Linked DNA regions of Homo sapiens: regions 2 and 3 are each linked to region 1. Evidence: promoter capture Hi-C in 16 types of primary human blood cells and fetal thymus (Javierre and others, 2016). All regions are on one chromosome and are shown on one strand. Each heading gives the region's core, a stretch centred on a gene start or on the middle of the fragment in contact. The rest is flanking DNA. Distances are from core to core; before and after follow the strand shown.

Region 1 (4,177 bases), core at 1,298-3,797:
TTTTATCGTAGATATTTACATATGCCTTAACTCTGTATTGTTTCCTTGCAAGTAAAGCTCATGCCAGGTTTTCTCTGCATCGTGCTTTGTACACAGATAGTAGGCTCTCAAGACATGTTTGTTGCCTTCGCACTCCAAGATTATCCCAAAGAGCTAATTTACATATGAAGTTGCAAAAACTGAATTTCAAGGGAAGATGATATCTACATTTATTTTACATCTTCATCATCTCAGGTCGTTTAATACTAAAACTGGTACCAATTGCCCTCATATTTTATTAAGTGCAATCAGAATATAATGCATGTAAGTATCTTAGTCTAATTTTAGTGGTTCCGGAGAAAATTCTCTCAAGACATACCTTGAGACCATACATTAAGGCAGGACACCATAATTAGAATCATCTCCAGATTTATATCTTAATCTTGCTACTACAAATTTCTTTTGACTTTTTAGAATATAGCCTTAAATGGAGACCTTTACTTAACTGACTATAAATGAAGTCATGTACCCAGGTGAGATTATGAACCCTTGGGAGTCGGAATCATGATTTATTTATCTTTTAATGCTCAGTGCCTAGGACAGAAGCTGGAGCTTTAAATAAATGTTCAATGTTTTCAGACTTTGTTGGAACAGCCTGCAGGCTCCTCAACGCCCTCCCCCACAGAGACTCAGCAACAGTGTGCCTCTATTAATATCTATTTATAAAGGTCAGCCTATTCTATATTTGAAACACAAAGAACCTTTTAAGAAAGGTGGATTTCTTTTGACTATTGATAACATGTACAGGAAAAGCTAGAAAAAATAAAAAGCTGTTGAAACACAGGGACTATGCTTAATATTTCTTGTATTCCCCACAAGGCCTTTTACAGAGCAGACATCCAGTAAATGTTTGATGATAAAAATAAGAAATATTTGTTATATTTTGAAAAAAGATTCATGGTGGAATTTCAAACGTGTACTGTGATCAGAACTATGGCAGGGGCAAACCAGGGGCTCAATAAGTGAGGCTTAACCCTCATTTATACCTTCCAGGATTTCTACCCCCACTCTTTGTCTTAAAACCTATTACAAAAATGGAAAGGAGGCCAAATGCTGTACCTATCTGGTAATGTCGCTGTTATCTGTGAAACCAACTACAAATTATAAAGCTTAATTAAGTGTCCTTGAGTCTTCATCACTGTAATTCTCCGATGCTTCATCAATATTAACACAGGGCAAAGTATCGATTGCTACTCTAGTCTTACTCATCAACTCATTAATTCGCTTCAAATCTCACAACTAAAATGCTCTTTCAATGATGTTATTGCACTGTAATTTGTATAAGGTACACTCCACGAAATACTGTCAATACATTTTATTGTGAGCATCTAATATGTGTCAGGGAGTGTGCTGACATTGGGTAAAGAAATTCATGTATTAAACTAAAACTTCCTCAACATCCATTACCAAGAACAGATCCTGCCTCAGTTTACTATCTGGCAGGGAAGGCAGACATTTAACAAGCAAATACAATTTCCGTTTTCAGAAAGAAGTCCATGTGAGATCTCAAGAGACAAGTAATCAAGGATCAGGGTGAGGAGGGAGAATGCAATCAGGCAAACAACTTGAATATCATCTGATAAATGTTATACTTTGGCCAGCATGTGGCCAAAGTACTATTAAAATTAAAAAGTGAGAGTATTTCATTCTCTGGAGGCTTGGGGAAAGCATCAGAAAGGAGCAGACATTTTCAGGGATGAATAGGCTTACACTAGGCTTAATAAAATGGGTGCCAGTAACGGTGGCTGTGATGGTACTCAGAAAGGAATTTCTTCTCGAAAACGCACGTATGGCAGGGATGGGGGATTCCAAGTACCAGCTGTGACGCATGGATGACCGTCATACCACTCTCACTGATTCTTTAGCTTCCTAGTCAAGCACCATCGTAACTAGTTGAACCAGTCGAGTGGGAGTTGATATTTCAGATCAGACCTCGTATGTTTCCCTCAGAGTGTAGAATTGCCATATAAATAACAGGATGTCTAGTTAAATTTACATGTCCGATAAAAAACGAATGTGTAGTGAAGTCCCCAATATTTGGTACATGCTTGTATTAAACATCATTTGTGCTTTATCTGAAATTAAAACTTCATAGTTTCATCTGTTTTGACTTTTTGTGTATTTTTATTTATTTATCTGGCAAACGTCCCAGAGCGGTAAGAACCGGCACGGTTTTGCCGTGGCACAGCTGATTACAAACAAAAAGTCTCTCCAATCAGAAGCAAGCGCGCAGAGAACTGGCGTCCGGAATAGAGACGCTGTAACCAGGAAACCAGGGTGAGCACCCACCCTACCGTCGGCCGCTTCTAGGAGACGGGCGCAGGCGCGCGCTGACGTTACATCTCGCGCTTAAGGGTGGGGACGACAGAGCGTCTCTCTCGGACGTGACCTCAGCGCCTCTTTGTGATTGGCTGCCTCGGGGGCGCGGCCCTTGGGCGCGGACGCCCTAGATTGGTGCTGCGGAACAGCAGGGAGGGACTCCGGCTGCAGCCGCGGGAGGTCCGGACACTGGCGGCCATGGAACTCACCGGTGAGTGCGCGTCGCGCCGCCCCTCTCCAGCGCTCTGGGCCGCTTTCGGATGGGGCTGTTCTGCGCGCGTGGGATCGTGGCGGGTGGTGGAGGGGGTGAAACCGACCCGGTTCGAAGCCCGGAAGTTGGGTCGGAGGGTCTCCAGAGTAGGTTGGGGCTGAGGGTGCGTTTAGGGCGGACGCGCTGGGTTCCTTGGCTCAGGCGGGTGGGTCGAGGGACTGGGGTCTCCGGAACCCCGGGCCTGAGACCAACGTCCACTCTTTGGTTGTTTTCTTTCTCTCTTTGGGCCTGGCCATCCCCGCCATGAACCCAGCGGGGTCGCTGTCTGAGCAGGGGTATCCCCTCCTTGGCCCGAGCGTTTCCCCAGCGACCTCTCAGGGAATCAGGGAATGAAGCTCAGACAGTGCCCAGGAATTGTCGGTGGAAGTACCATTCTCTTGACCCACAACTCCTGCCAGGTCTCCCTAAGGTTCTTCAGGAACCTCTACTGCTAATGATTGCCCAGGGCTCGTTGGTCGTGGTCGAGAATTTTACGGTAATGTCTTTGCCACTTTAAGTGGCTGGGTGGGAACCTTGGACAAATCACTCAACTTGTCTGGGTTCTCATTTGTAAAACGAGAGAGGTATTCACTAGAGCTCCAAGCCTCATTTCGGCTTTAAGAGCTAAGATTCTGCGATTGTGCAGCATAATGAACTTTTATGTCAAAGATGTTTGGACTGAAAACCTGGCGGAAGTGGGCAGACTCCTCACAGAACGTTGCAGGCTAATGACAACATTTTAAATGATATCATTTGGTTCATTACTCACTGTTTTTGCTATCGTTCATCTTTTAAAACTGGTAGAACTGGAAGTTCGGGTTTAGGTGACCACAGTAAGAAAATGTTAGTTAAGCCACCTAAAAGTACAAACTTGGGGAATTTCAATATTTGGTAATATTGAATCTTAATTAGTAAACTCAGTCAACAAACACTTCTGGGGTCTTTCCGAGAGTATATTTAAAATGTAGATGAGGCCGGGCACGGTGGCTCACACCTGTAATCCCAGCACTTTGGGAGGCCGAGGCTGGTGGATCACCTGAGGTCAGGGGTTCGAGACCAGCCTGGCCAACATGATGAAACCCCGTCTCTACTAAAAATACAAAAATTAGCTGGGCTTGTGGTGTGCGCCTGTAATTCCAGCTATTCAGGAGGCTGAAGTGGGAGAATCGCTTGAACTCGGGAGGCAGAGGCTGCAGTGAGACGAGATCGCTCCACTGCACACTAGCCTGGGCAACAGAGTGAGACTCCGTCTCAAAAAAAAAAAAAAAAAAAAAAAGTAGATGAATTTGTTGGAGAGACTAGACAGTTAAGCCTTTGCACATACAGTTAATTGGCATTTTCTGAGTTTGCAGGTGAAACCGGAAACTCAGAGCTTTAGGATGGCTTCTCATTGTATAGTTGTTTGTTTTCTGGAGCCTTGGAAATCTCATTTGTAAAGCTGAGGAAGATTTTGACTAGATATCCAAGATTCTTTTTAGCTTTAAGTGTCTAAGAATGTACAGTAGTACTAAATATTGAGTGGGCATTTCACATTAATAAAGCTTTAGGGGACCCCTGAGATAAACATTT
Region 2 (4,097 bases), core at 1,312-3,811, 510 kb before region 1:
TTTTTGAGGGGACATTTACTTCATTCCCCATTTGTTTCTTTTTGAATAATTTGCTGAATTTAAGATAAGAGCATTTCTGCATATAAAAAGTTCTCTTGTGTGGGGAGTATACATGGAAGTAACAGTATGGGATACAATGAGGGTGGGAGAGAAGTCTGGTTTTCTTCTCAGCTTCCCTTTATTGCACTCCAAATATGGGTTGGATATTTTGTCAGGGAGATGGCTGGGAAGAAATGGAGATTACAAGACATAAGTTTCTTAAATACTGAGGACTCCTCTTTATTATTGAATGATCTTTGGTGATTTTGTATCTTTGGGTGATTTTGTATCCAGTGTTTCGTTTGGTCTTATTAAAGATTATAGAAAAGTCATATCATTTGAGAGGTGAGAGATGTTTTACAGTGATCTAGTCAGGTGATTTTGTTTTGTTTTGTTTTGTTTTAAGCTTTTTGCCCCATGGGTAGAACCTTAAATAAAATGAGTGGAAGTGAGGCTGCTCCTTGTGAAATCAGGAATGAGGATCCTGTATCCTGGCTCACTTGGCCTTTACCCCTCTGCACAGGAGACAGTTCTTGAGTTTGAAAACTGCCGTTGTTGATCAAACTTCAATTTTATAAAGAATGCAAATTTGGGAGAAGTGACTTGTCTAGGGCCATATGCCAGTTAGTGATTGACATGGGGCTGCAACTCAGATCTTAAGCTTAGAGGCAAAGATTTTAAACAGGGCTGGAAAAAGATCAGGTTTACATATCTTAAAAGATTGAACTGAGACAATGGATGAGGGCAGGAGGGGCTGAGACTGGCACCTGCAGGATCAGTAGGAGACTATGTGAGATCCTGAACCCAGGCGCTAGAAAGGAGGGCTGTCACTAAATAGCCATTATCAAATAGGTAGGTTTGATAAGACTTGGTCACCTCTAGAAGTGGGAAGAATATGGGAGGTCGAGGCAGGAGAATCGCTTGAGCCCAGGAGTTCAAGTCCAGCCCTGGCAACTTAGTGAGACCCCGCCGTCTCTACAATTAAAAAAAAAAAAAAAAATTAGCTGGGCGTGGTGGCATGCACCTGTATTCCTAGCTGCTCTGGAGGCTGAGGTGGGAGGATTGATTGTGCCTGGGAGTTCAAGCCTGCACTGAGCCCTGATTGGGCCACTGCACTCCAGCCTAGGTGACAGAGTGAGACCCTCAACGACAACAACAAAGCGGAGAGAGCAGCGAAGGAAAGGGAGGAGTGGGGTGATCTCCACATTTCTGGTTTGCTGATGGGGTACAAGGTGAGCTAGATAACTCGGCTTATTTTGGGGTGAGTTGATTTGGGGATGTCTATGTGACTTTCATTAAGAGAAGCCTGATTTTCTGGTGGGATGTGGTTGGTGTAAGTATGGAAGTCTGGGGAAAATAAGACAAAGTATTAGATCACCAGCATTCAAGTGGCAGGCAAAGGAGATGAAGAAGGGACCTTCAGAGTGGAATGAGAAATTTCACCAATGCCAGATGTTGCATAAAGTTCAATGAAAGTGAGGAAGGAATCTGGTAGATTTTACAGTGAGCATTTCATATAATGCCCTTTGCCAGAACATTTTCAGTGGAATAGTGGAGATAGAACTCTCGATGTAATGGGGCGAAGTGTGAAGAGGTGGAGAAATTTAAATAGCATGTGTAGACTATTTTGGGGAACTTTGCTGTGAAGGACAGGAGACGAGGTGGTAACCACTCATAGACATAGGAGTGGGGGACAAGGTTTTTAAAAAAGAAGGTGTGAGAGGCTTAAGCTTATTTCTAGATAGGGGAAGGAGTCCCCCGTGTGGAGGAGGAAAATACCAGCAAGGGATTCAATCCCAGGAATGGGCTGTTATGGGAAGAAAGGAAAGCACTGCTTGGTGTTCATGCACATGTCACTCAGTCTGTCCGTGTTGAGCCACTACTTTTTCTTTTGAAAGCTACAAAGGGTATCTAATCCAACTCTGATACTTATATCAAGCACCTTTAAATAAAAGGTGGACTTTAAAAAAAACAGCTTTATTGAGATATCAGTCATATACAAAAGGTGGAATTTATCAGTTCTTTCTCTATACGTTCCCCCTTCCATTTCATACTGAAAACCTCATCTACTCTACCACTTACGGACATATTTTTTGTTGGTATAAACAGGTGGTTTGTTTTCCCTACTGCTGGAAGCGAAGAGCTTTTTAAGCAGGAGAATTACTGCTTAGCGCCTGAGAAATTCTGGACTGGGACTTCTGCTGTTCATATCAGCAAGTGATTTTTGTTGTTTTTGTTAAATTATCTCATCTACATTCTTCATCCTGAGTATTTGGCATACAAATTCCCCCTTTTGAGAGGGGAATGATGGATAAGAATAATATTAGCTGAAAAGACAGACTGAAAATCTGGGGACTTAAGTTCTGTTCCCTTTGTAACGTTAGCTAGTTTTATGACTTTAAACAAGTCACTTTGTTTCCTTATCTCTAAATGCTCTTGAAGATCCCTTCAAGACAGAATACTGTGCTTTTTTGATTCCTGTTTTGTGTAGCATTTTGTGGAAGAGTCACTGGATTAAGGTCTTTTAAAATTAATTTAAAAACATATATATCTCCAAATTACTAGCTTGATAATTTGTTAAAGAATACTTACTGATTTTCTTTACTAACAAAAGAATTTTTAATGACATACCAGTGGGTATTGAGAACACTTCAGCTACATTCACCCACAGTCAGCTGATATTTAGCTGATATTTAGCTGACTGCGGAGAAGTCATGTGTTTTGAATATAAGAATAGGCACTTTCAGATGTTCTCTGAGTGCCAGTAATTAGAGTAAGCCTTAATCCACTGTGCTAAAAATAACCAAACATACCTTTCTTCTTACTAGTCTATTATTAATTTTACTTCAGATTTAGACTTACAAATAGGCACTAAGAGAACAAAATGAGCTCATTATTGATTTTTTTAAAACCATTTGGTCCTAAATATAGGAAGTACACTTCAGGTTCTCTTGGTAATCTTTTACTAAATCAGTATGGCATATTTTACTTCTCTTCAAAGCTCTTAAAATATTGTTTCGAGCACATTTTAATTTTTGCCAGGTATGGGATTACGTTAATGCAATTGCTGGCTATAGTTTTTAATGTAAAACTTGGGCTCTAGAGTCAAATTGCTGTTCCTAGGCAGGTTACTCAAACCTGGGTCTCTTATCAATGCAAATAATAATGGTATCTCATGGATACGGTTGTTGTGAGGATTAGAGTGGTAAAATATGCAAAAGCCTTAGCTAACATTTAATGTCTCATGTAGGGCGAGGATTCAGTGAATGGTACTTAATTATTATGTTTCTGTTTTTTTCCTGCCCTAAGCTTTCTGGAAAGAGGTACATTATTATCCTGATAGCTATCTGTTCACCTACACCAAAGAATTCATTAATTTGATTATTCTTTTTCCATTCCGAGTGAAAGTAAACATTACTGGCTGGGGCTTAGACACATTGTTTCTGATGATTTTTAAATTAATGCTTCCAAGTGATTCATGCAGTTTAGGACCTTTGACTAGTGTTTAAGTGCTTTTTATTTGTAAGTAAAGAGGCAGTACTGTGGATAAGGAGCGAGGATGGTACGAGCATTAGCTTGTTTAATAGTAGCATGAGGAAATCTTAAATAAAAGGAATTTTACTTGAAACTGTTAGTAAACTTTGTATAATAAATTATTTAGCATTCTGTTCCTATCAGCTAGTCATATCTGGTTTTTAATCTACCATTTTTATGTCAGTCCCTTTAATGTTTAGTTTTCTTAAATCAGGGAATCTTATGTGTCATTTATCAGTTTCCTCAAATTCAAAGTTCTATTTAATGAGCATGGGTTAGGGAGGATGGAGAGTTGGAATACTCTATTCTCTTTTAAATAGACAAACAAAAACAGTAACGATGGGAAAGAGAGGGAGCACTTTGTTAAAGTTGGCATTGATGCCCTGTTTTGTCTTCCATGACTTATTCCCTTCACAATGATGATAAATGAACACATGTGAATACCTCCTCTCAATAAGACTGCAGTAGCTCCACCATTTTAAATAACTTACTGAGTGTGGAAGTCAGGTAGAGTAGACATGCAC
Region 3 (4,038 bases), core at 668-3,167, 840 kb after region 1:
TATTTGCACTCCTATGTTTATTGCAGCATTATTCATAATAGCCAAGATATGGAATTTATCTAAGTACCTATTAATGGATGAATGGATACAGAAAATGTAGTATGTATTCACAATGAAATATTATTCAGCCATAAAAGCATGAAATCCTGTGATTTGCAGCAACATAGTTGGAACTGGAGGTCATTATGTTAAGTGAAATAAACCAAGCTCAGAAAGACAAATATCACATATTCTCCTTCCCACGTGGGAGCTTAAAATGAGAATCTCATGAAGATAGACAGGAAATTGATGGTTATCAGAGGCAGGGAAGGGTACAGGGTGGGGGGAAATGAAGAGAGGCTGATTAATGAGTATAAAGATACAGTTTGTTGTAATAAATTAGACCTAGTGTTTGATGGATCAGTAGGGCGGCTATAGTTTATAATAATCTATTATATGTTTCAAAAATAACTAGAAGAGAATAATTCAATTTTTTCTATCATAAAGAAAAGTATTTAAGGTGACAGATATCCCAATTGCACTGATTTGATCTGTACAAATTATACAAATATATTAAATTACCTCATGTGCCCTCAAAATATGTATATTATATATAAAAAAATTTAAAAATAAAAATGTCAATGACCTAGGGGGGAAAATACTTTCTATCAAGGGGTATAGTTTGTCAATACATTTATTCAGATCTCATTTTATGTCCTTCAATAAAATTTATAGCTCTTTTAAATAAATGTTACATTTTCCTTGTTAAATTGTTTCTATGTAATTTGTAGTTTTTATTTTATTGTTAATGAGGTGTATGGTTGTGTTTTCCATTTCTATTTCTATCTGGTTTCTATGAGTAAATCAGTTGGTTTTTAAAATATTTTTCCTGGTAACCAGCACCTTACCAAATTATTTTACTTCTAGTCACATAATTTTCTTTTAATTGAGCCTGTTGGTTTTTTTTTTGTTTTTTTAGGTAACCATGGAATTATTTGCAAATCAGTGTGATATGACTATCTTCCAATATTTACATAACTTCTTTACTTTTTAAAGAATTCTCAAGAACTCTGAAGAAATGAAAATAACATCTCTTCCTTTAAAGAGCATAAGCTATTGGCCAGTGTTCACTATATATTAGAGTTGTAATTGTGATGGCAGGTACTTTACTTGTGATGCATAATCCATCTTGCTGTCTGTTCTATTCCAGGATGATATTTCTGGGTTAGAGTACCTCCTTAAGCAGAGCCACATGGAAACAGGATTTTTAAGGGACACATTTTGAGTTGGTCTGCCTAGCTGTGAGATAGATGGGAGGGGGTGGGGCAAAGTGTATCTTAGAGGCCAATTGTCCCACAGGTTTTCAAATAAATGGCAACATTTTTTAAAACTAAGAAAAATTGAGCTTTTGCCTTTTAAAATCTGGTTCAAATGTCCCCTTATGAAACAGAACGAAGTGAAAATGCTCCCAGCAACATGTCATGTGTCTGGATGGGAAGTGGAGGCTCAGCCTGCCACTCTCTCACTATGTCTCCAAGGACTGTGCTGTGGTTTGTGACTCAGCTATTGTTTGCAAAGCCCAGGACCACCACATTTTGTACCCTTCTCTGTCTTCAAGGAGAAAACCCACTTCATATAACCAAGCCCACATGGATCCTCACACTGAGAATTATAAAAGACTGCACCGAGCTGTTTTCTTCCTGTTACTCTTATGATAAATTCCTTTCTGAGCTTTAGAAATAAGTAGCTGGGGAAATTTGTTCCCTCTACTTTCACTTTTGCTTTCTCGTTTTGAAATCATCATGAAAGCTTACAGAAGCTAACATCAAGTTGCCCTGGTTATCAGACGATTTCTCTTCTCTATCTTGACCCCTCATCAACCACTTTACATCATCTTTCCATGTGATACAACTATTTATTTGAGTGCCTTGGGCTCTAAGCTCTGTAGAGCAAGCAGCCTATACTTTATTTTTCCTCTTCTGTGTTCTAAGACACTTGTAATAATTATCAGCCTAAAATTAACCCAAATATCAGACGCATGGTGTTTGGTAGCCCTTCAAAGCTTTTTTGTTTTTTTCCTGGCCAATCTCAGGTACAATGGTTTGGTATTAGACTAAATTTAACATGTGTACAATGAAAAGATTTTGCTTCATTTTTCTAGGACTTTGATGCTCTGGTATTTTGAACCACCTAGGCTGTGATCACTCAAGTTGCCTAGTAACCAGCTGAAGGCCAGCACCAGAGTGAAACCAAGAGAAGCCACATTCCTTAATAAAGACAGCAACAGCTGGGGAACCAGCAGGTCTAGGTTCACGGTTGAGCTGGATCCTTACTCCTTTGAGGATGTGACTGACATGTCTTTTATTAAACTGCTTAAATCCTCCATCTGTAAAATGGGCCTGACGTTTGACAGCAAGTACCTCCTGCACATATTGTGAGGATTAATGAAGAATCTAGAAAACAGTTTGAACCTTTCAGAATAAAAGCACTTGGAAAACATGTTGGATTTACAATAATTTAGTGCTAGCATTAAGATAATGTTGGAAAGCAGGGTCAGCTAAATCACTGATTTCCAAGATTTAAAGACAACTACAGTAATAACAGTCTTTCCACTTGCCTTATAGTTAATTGTGTTTATATAATTATCTCAAGGACAGAAAGTGGTGATAAATGCATTGAAAATGGAGAAAAACGTATTATGGTATTAAAAAACAATCTGAGTTACCATATCTGAGATCAACCCACATATGTGCGGATTTACTCAGTACTAATTCAGCTAATCTTTCTTAGAGATGACTGTCAATTCTAGAAGAACTCAAGATACAAGGTAAGACCATTAGCTTGGTGTATAGTCTGATGAACAGCATATAAAAATGGCTTTGTTTGGGAAACAGTCCCTCTATGTCAATATGGAATTCTGGGCTCATCTGAGCCAACACACTTACCTAGGATTCAAGTTCCTTCCCCTCACCTACAATCTATGCATTCTTTTTTTCTTGTCATTACCCCATGTAGACTTTGCATTTCGCCCATGCTAAAATATTTCATCTCCCTTTCACCCCAAACACAATGAACTCTCCTTAGCTAGAAATGTCAGCTCACAAGCTTCTGTCTTAGAACAATTTTTTTCCACAATTCTCTTGGATTATCTGAAACAAAACTATCCTGAAAACCACCAGCTCAAGTACTCCTTTGCAAAATGGACTGTTTTATTTCCCAGGCCCAGAGTGGTCATAAAGTCCCTGAGGTATCATTAGGCATCAAGAAGAACTGGGTTCAAATCCTTTTTATGCTTTCTGTGCATACATAAGGCAAATTACTTAATTTCTCTCAACCTTAGATTCTTATCTATAAAACAGATAATAATACACTCAAAGGTTGTTGGGAGGATTAAATAAGGATATATATATATGTAATATTTTCATATATATCCTTATATAAGTATATAAGGATATATATGCAATATGTATATATGTATGTGTACATACATACACATATATAGTGCGTATATATATATACACACACTCACACAGACATATATATATGGTGGGTCAGAAATTTCAGAAATATACCCCGTGCTCAATCAACGTAATTGATAGAGTTCTCTTTCCCCCTTCCACTCCACCTTCTTTCTAGCTCTCATACTAATCATGGCTGCTTTTCTAGATGGTAGAGTAGAACCCTATATCGACTAACAAAATAGATGTCTTCTATTTGAAGGGATTTAGAACCAGGTTAAAAAGTAAAACATAATGTCCATTCGCCTGCATTATAGTTTTCTGCGATGTTTAGAGAATTTTTTTAATGACAGGTTTTGATTGTCTTATATTGAATATGTTTTAAGTGGTTTTCACCTAATATAAGAGGAAAACATCAAAAGCCACAATCCTAGAAAGAGAAACTACATTACATTGAAAACTCTCAAGGGCTAATGGGCCATTTATGCCTTTTCTCTGGGCATTAGGAAACTCATTGTATGGTGACAAGTTTGCCTTGGCTCAATCTGATCTACCAGCAAGGACTCTGAAAGACATTCATTCAATCACTTGTCCATCCTGA

What was found. Contacts are between HindIII fragments. The CHiCAGO score rates a contact against its expected background, and 5 or more counts as called.
Region 2: a fragment that was not itself captured here is called in contact with the fragment with the promoter of PIGA in region 1 in 1 of 17 cell types (naive CD4 T cells); the score reaches 6.5 in naive CD4 T cells.
Region 3: a contact is called between a fragment that was not itself captured here and the fragment with the promoter of PIGA in region 1, in 2 of 17 cell types (total CD8 T cells and activated CD4 T cells). The highest score is 7.6, in total CD8 T cells.

What each region holds. Positions count from the first base shown.
Region 1 is chrX:15,333,893-15,338,069 of GRCh38, reverse strand. It overlaps PIGA (phosphatidylinositol glycan anchor biosynthesis class A), which reads left to right and starts at 2,547. Exons shown (of 6, transcript NM_002641.4): 1 at 2,547-2,569. RefSeq lists enhancers at 2,616-2,695, 2,746-2,795. The HindIII fragment of the contact is 3,001 bases long and covers 1,151-4,151 here.
Region 2 is chrX:15,847,461-15,851,557 of GRCh38, reverse strand. All of the region lies in intron 2 of AP1S2 (adaptor related protein complex 1 subunit sigma 2), which reads left to right. Among named protein-coding and RNA genes, the nearest start is that of AP1S2, 5.3 kb to the left of the region's middle. The HindIII fragment of the contact is 1,579 bases long and covers 1,772-3,350 here.
Region 3 is chrX:14,495,048-14,499,085 of GRCh38, reverse strand. It overlaps a transcript of GLRA2 not described here. Among named protein-coding and RNA genes, the nearest start is that of GLRA2, 32 kb to the left of the region's middle. The HindIII fragment of the contact is 253 bases long and covers 1,791-2,043 here.